Regions from separate parts of the Homo sapiens genome. Here region 1 is linked to region 2. Evidence: promoter capture Hi-C in 16 types of primary human blood cells and fetal thymus (Javierre and others, 2016). All regions are on one chromosome and are shown on one strand. Each heading gives the region's core, a stretch centred on a gene start or on the middle of the fragment in contact. The rest is flanking DNA. Distances are from core to core; before and after follow the strand shown.

Evidence for each region. The method cuts DNA at HindIII sites, captures the fragments that hold promoters and counts their contacts. A CHiCAGO score of 5 or more calls a contact.
Region 1: a fragment that was not itself captured here is called in contact with the fragment with the promoter of HUS1 in region 2 in 1 of 17 cell types (total CD8 T cells); the score reaches 9.0 in total CD8 T cells.

What each region holds. Positions count from the first base shown.
Region 1 is chr7:35,031,243-35,034,231 of GRCh38, reverse strand. All of the region lies in intron 1 of DPY19L1 (dpy-19 like C-mannosyltransferase 1), which reads left to right. Among named protein-coding and RNA genes, the nearest start is that of DPY19L1, 4.7 kb to the left of the region's middle. The HindIII fragment of the contact is 6,354 bases long and covers 1-2,989 here.
Region 2 is chr7:47,977,850-47,980,926 of GRCh38, reverse strand. HUS1 (HUS1 checkpoint clamp component) reads left to right here and starts at 1,312. Exons shown (of 8, transcript NM_004507.4): 1 at 1,312-1,459; 2 at 2,111-2,238; 3 at 2,334-2,510. The coding sequence starts at 1,408. RefSeq lists an enhancer at 1,242-1,531 and silencers at 1,602-1,661, 1,742-1,791. The HindIII fragment of the contact is 1,329 bases long and covers 807-2,135 here.

The DNA.
Region 1 (2,989 bases), core at 268-2,767, about 13 Mb after region 2:
ACATGCAAACAAAGCATGTCTGTGGTGAAAGACTAACATGAGATACTATATACACAACAATAAAACAAGAACCTGAGTATGGGAAAAGTGGATGATAAAAACTACCTTTTCCCCCCTTTGCATTAATCCTGTTTGACTCATTCCCATTGCCCACCTGGTTCCTGTGGTCAATGGCAAGGGTACACCTGCTATAACCTGGTTCCTTATTGACAAGGCTTTGCAACCTCAGCATTGTGGCATTTTGGGTGGGATAATTTTTTTGTTGAGGGGGCTTTCCTGTGCACTGCAGGATTTTAGCAGCATCCTTGGCCTCCACCTACTAGATGCCACTGGTATCTCCCCAGTAGTGACAACGAAAATGTCTCCAGATTTTGGCCATTGTACCCTGGGAGGCAAAATTGTGTCATTTGGGACCACAGCTTTTATTCTCTACAGCTTACGAGAACCTTGAAGCCCATATGGTAGGAAACACTTGCGACTTCTTAGAGGCAGAAGTGGTCAGAAACTGGGTGGAGGCAGAGAGTTGAATCTAGCTGTTGGGGACTAGATGGGGGGAGCAATGTGGTGTGGTAGAAGCAGCATAGCCATATCAACACTGGCCTGCATTTGAATCCTGTTTCTGCATTCGAGCTGTTCTACACTCCTTTAATATTTCTCACCCTTAAAATGGGAATAATAAATGCTTTGTCTGATTATGGTAAAAAATAAATGAGATAATACATGTAAAATAGCACAGTAAGTTCATTCATAGTCAGTCATACCATATCATTGAGCGTCTACTAAGCCAGATGCTAGTTGGTGGGGTAAAATGTAGAATGAGACTCTGTCACCCCTACCTTCATGGAACTTACATTCTGGAAGGGGGGATGGTAAATAAATGAAAATAATTGCACATTGTGAATGAGTGCACTGCAGGAAAGAAACAAGCTGAGATAGAAAAAAAAGGAAATACCCTCTTTAAGTAGGGTCAGGAAAGGTCTCTGGGGAGGTAGCCTTGAAGCTGAGACCGATAGAAAGAAAAGATGTCAGCCGAACAGAAGAGTATGACAGAGCTTAGCATGTTGAAAGAAGAGAGGGTGGAGGTGCATCAAAGTGAGATGGGCATGGGCCAGATCTTGAAAAGGAGCTTGGGTTTTATTCTCAGTGCAACAGGAAGCCATTGAGGAATGCTCAACAGGAGGAGAGTGACATGATTAAATTTTTACTTTGAGAAATCTGCTCTTGGGAAAATGGGTGGTTGCACTACAAGGACAAAAGTGGAGAGACCCATGAGGAGGCTGTTCACGGACCTAGCAAGAGGGTTGCTGGCCTAGATGAAGGCGGTGGCTGTGGAGATGGAGAGAAATTGGTCAATTTGAGTTGTATTTTGGAGGTGAAAATGATAGGACTTATGAATTGGGCTTGGATTGAGGGAAAGGAAGGAGTTATGAATACTTTGTACATTTTTGGCTTCTCTAATTGGGTAAATAATGCTGGCATTCACCAAGATAGTGAAGACTAGGGGTATGGATGAGGGAATGGGTTTGAAGGAAAAGGTCAAGAATTTCGTCTTGGACATGTTACTTTTGGGACATTTGTGAGATGTCCAAGTAGAAATGCCAATCAGTGGTGGGATATGAGAGAAAAGGTCTGAGTGGAGATGTACTACAGGGAGTCATCAGCAAATAGGTGGTTTTCACATTAATGGTAATTGAATTTGTATTCCCATTGAACTTCTATTTCCATACTTAGGGGAACAATAGCATCTTATACTGATAGGGGGCTTACTCTTTGCCAGGCTTTGTTGGAAGTGCTTTAGATGAACTCATTTAACTGTTTACTCAGTCCTCACCATGACACTATGATTACTGTGCTTGTTTTACCACGTGGGGGGAATCTGAGGCACAAAGATATTAAGTAACTTGTCCAAGGTCACCCCTAGAATGTAGAAGGGCCAGGATTTGACCCAGGCAATGTGTTTCCTAAGTTCATGCTCTTAACTAGTATGCTATATTTCATCTCCTCTAAGGGGACAGTACAGCAAAAGAAATGAAACCCTAGAGTCCAATTCTGAGAAACCCTAACATTTTGTGCTCAATAAATGTTAGTTTTCTTGTTTCTTCCTTCCCCAGGAAAAAGAAGGAAAAGAGGGTCATACTTAGAGATACAGGAACAACAAGTAGAAAGAGCATATTAGGGGTGGCATAAGGGCCAAGAAAAGCTAAGGAAGCATGAGGCACAGGGACACAGGCCATCTTGGTGTGCTTGCTTTCAAACAGACACATAGACCCAACTGAGCACCAGCTGTGAGAGTGTGTTTATGTTAATTCATAGAGGTTATGCCAATGGGAATTTGGGATTTTAAAGAATTTCTTTAATGTTTACAGCCATTTTTTTTTCTTTCTAAGATAGACTTCTGGCTAACTCTAAAGAATGTTTATAATCACCTAAACATATTTTATTATTAACAGATACAGTTAGAAGTTTTCTGAATATGTGATGCTCATTAGCATCCAAATAACAAATTTGATAAGTTTAGTTTATGTAAATATAAGCATATGTTATCTATTTGTGATTGATTTTTGGCCAATAATATGGCATCAATACTGAAAGCACATACAGTTTTATTTATGTACATATGGGTATTTGGATGTTGCTAATATTTGAACCGTGGCTGTTATGCATTGTAAATACTTATCCTATTAGGCTGTATTAATTTCTCTTAATGAGTGTGTTAGGTATATTAATGTTTCTTAAAGTTCATGCTAATGAGGCAAGTTGTTACTTAGTAACCCCGAGGGATTGGTTCAAGGACCTCCCTCCGATATCAAAATCTGCAGATTCTCAAGTCCCTAGTATAAAATGGCATAGTATTAGCCTATAACATACACACATACTCCTGGATACTTTAAATCATGCCTAGATTACTTAGAATACCTAATAGAATGTAAATGTTACTTATATATTTGTTACACTGTATTGTTTAGGGAATAATATCTGCATGTGTTCA
Region 2 (3,077 bases), core at 63-2,562:
TTGTGATATTTTGCTGAGAATGATGGTTTCCAGCTTCATCCATGTCCCTGCAAAGGACATGAACTCATCCTTTTTTATGGCTGCATAGTATTCCATGGTGTATATGTGCCACATTTTCCTTATCCAGTCTATTATTGATGGACATTTGGGATGGTTCCAAGTCTTTGCTATTGTGAATAGTGCCACAATAAACATATGTGTGCATGTGTCTTTGAAAATTATCTGGGCCTGGCGCGGTGGCTCACGCCTATAATCCCAGCACTTTGGGAGGCCGAGGTGGGCAGATCACCTGAGGTCAGGAGTTCGAGACCAGCCTGGCCAACATGGCGAAACCCCGTCTCTACTAATAATACAAAAATTAGCCGGGCATGGTAGCTTGTGCCTGTAATCCCAACTACTTGGGAAGCTGAGGCAGGAGAATCCCTCGAACCCGGGAGGTGGAGGTTGCAGTGGGCCAAGATCACGCCATTGCACTCCAGCCAGGGCGACAGAGCCAGACTCCGTCTCAAAATCATCATCATCATCATCTGCATTATCATTATCTTGATTCTATGTGTCAAGTTAAAGACAAGGTTCTAGTCTATTTGCAAAGGACATTAAAAATAACAATTGTTAACACAGATAATCTTTAGTCTTTGAAAAACCAAATTAGATACAATTGTTGCTTCATTTCCCCCTTTAAAATTTTTCCTTTAAAAAAAATCCTAATGACATTATTTATGCTAATAAGAATTTTATCGGATGTAATAAAGTTCGTCTTGAGGCAAACTGCAGAATTATCACTTAACGTCAGTGTTCTTTAAGCTTCCCGACTTTACCAACTAGCCAGTAATATGTTCAATTTTTTTAGAAGTCATTTGAAACAATTTTCAGAACCTTAATCCACCAAGATGCTTCAATACCAAAGTACCAGTACCGTCATCTGAGGCTGGAGGGTTTAAAGCTGCTCTACCTTAGGTATATTTAAGATAATATTGTTTAACCTTTATAAACGATTAATTTTATTTGGATATTTTAAAATAACACTTGAAATAGGTGTCACAAAATTCTTTCAAAACGTGAATTCTCAGAACAACCTCCCCGAATCTGGGGCTTGAAGCCTCCGCCTCACTAAAAGTAGATCCCACCATTACCCGGCAGCGCGGAGGCATACCCGGAGACTGGGACCCCCACCTCCCCCGGGGCGTGACCTGTGATCCTTGACCCGTGACCCCACCTCCTCTAGGGCGTGACCCCCTAGCCCCACCTCCTCCGGGGCGTGGCCCGGAGATAACCCTGGTAAGAGTCGCGTAGCCCGAGCCGGGCGGAACCACTGTTCGCGCTGCCGTGTTTCCGGGCGGGGACACTCAGGGCGCGACGCTTTTCTGTTACCCACAGAGGCCCGCCGCGGCTGCGCCATCCGCGGCCATGAAGTTTCGGGCCAAGATCGTGGACGGGGCCTGTCTGAACCACTTCACACGTGAGCAGGGAGGCCGGAGAGGAGCGAGGGAGGAACGGAAGGAAGCAGTGAGCGCGCGGTGGGGACCGCGCAGGAGGATCAGAACGGGGATGGGCGCCGGAAGGGGCCGCGGGAGGATGGGGCCGGGATGGGGGTGCTGGTGTAGGCCGCGGGAGGGTGGGGCCGGGAGGGCGCGGGGCGGGTCGGAGGGCACTTGTGGGGATGAAGGCGGCTTTCAAGGGACGTTTCTGAAACTTGATTCCGATCACGTGGCTTTAAAAAAAAGCGGCCACTGCTCCCATAGACGGCTTTATCAGGCATTGACATACCTTCAAGGCCCCATTCGTCCCTCCACCCTGACAGTGCCTAACCTTGCATTTAACTGTGTATTGCAGTACCTAGTAGTCAATAAATCCATGTTGAATGAATGAATGACTGGTAGGTGCCTGTTTTCTTATTTGAACACTGATGATGTGTGCTGTACATCTCCCCTAGTTTGTTGGGAGAATTGCGTGACATCAGGGGTATTAAAGTACTTTCCAGTGTGATACCAACGTTAAGTGGTTATTTTTCCACCGAGAAGTTGATGAACAAGAAATTCTGCAAAATAAGTTGGTCTCTAGGATACATAATGTGCATTTTAGTAATTCCTTATTTTAACCCCTGCTTTAGGAATCAGTAACATGATAGCCAAGCTTGCCAAAACCTGCACCCTCCGCATCAGCCCTGATAAGCTTAACTTCATCCTTTGTGACAAGCTGGCTAATGGAGGAGTGAGCATGTGGTGTGAGCTGGAACAGGTGAGCAAAAGCTTCTGAGAGGCCTGCACACTCTGCAGATTGTCACTGGAAAGATCACATATACCCTCCCTCATCCCTCATTTTTTTTCCCTTAGGAGAACTTCTTCAACGAATTTCAAATGGAGGGTGTCTCTGCAGAAAACAATGAGATTTATTTAGAGCTAACATCGGAAAACTTATCTCGAGCCTTGAAGACTGCCCAGAATGCCAGGGCTTTGAAAATCAAACTGACTAATAAACACTTTCCCTGCCTCACGGTCTCCGTGGAGCTGGTGAGTAGGAGAGTCAGGGTTTCTAACACAGAAGTCTTGGCCTCGAAGGAATAGACATAGTTAGCCTAGCCTTTTTAACAATAAATACTGTTGAAAGCTGTTTGGTTTATTTAAATTTAAAGATCTGGTCCATAACTATATTTTGCATTAGAGTCAGTTCCTCCTCATTTTAAAATTGTGTTGTTATCATATGCATTCAGCTAGAATGCTGCTTTTTCCAAGCCGTGAAACTTCCAGCCTCTCTGTTTCTTGTAGTGGTATTGTCACCTTGTCTAGAAATCATGGTTTCTCTATCCATTTTCACCTTTGACATGTTTTCTCCCCACTCCCACCCTGCCTCATCTGCTATAATAACCTTTAAATGGCCCCTCGTTCTTCAGTACACGTATGTTTTATATGCTACTGCCAGATGAATTTAGTGCACAGCTGTCCTCCAAACACACAAATACACAAACTCATGCGCATACATACAATCCAGAGTTGCTCTTCCTACTCATAGAATGAGGTTCGTATTTCCTTTTTTTTGAGACGGAGTCTCTCTATCACCCAGGCTGGAGTGCAGTGGCG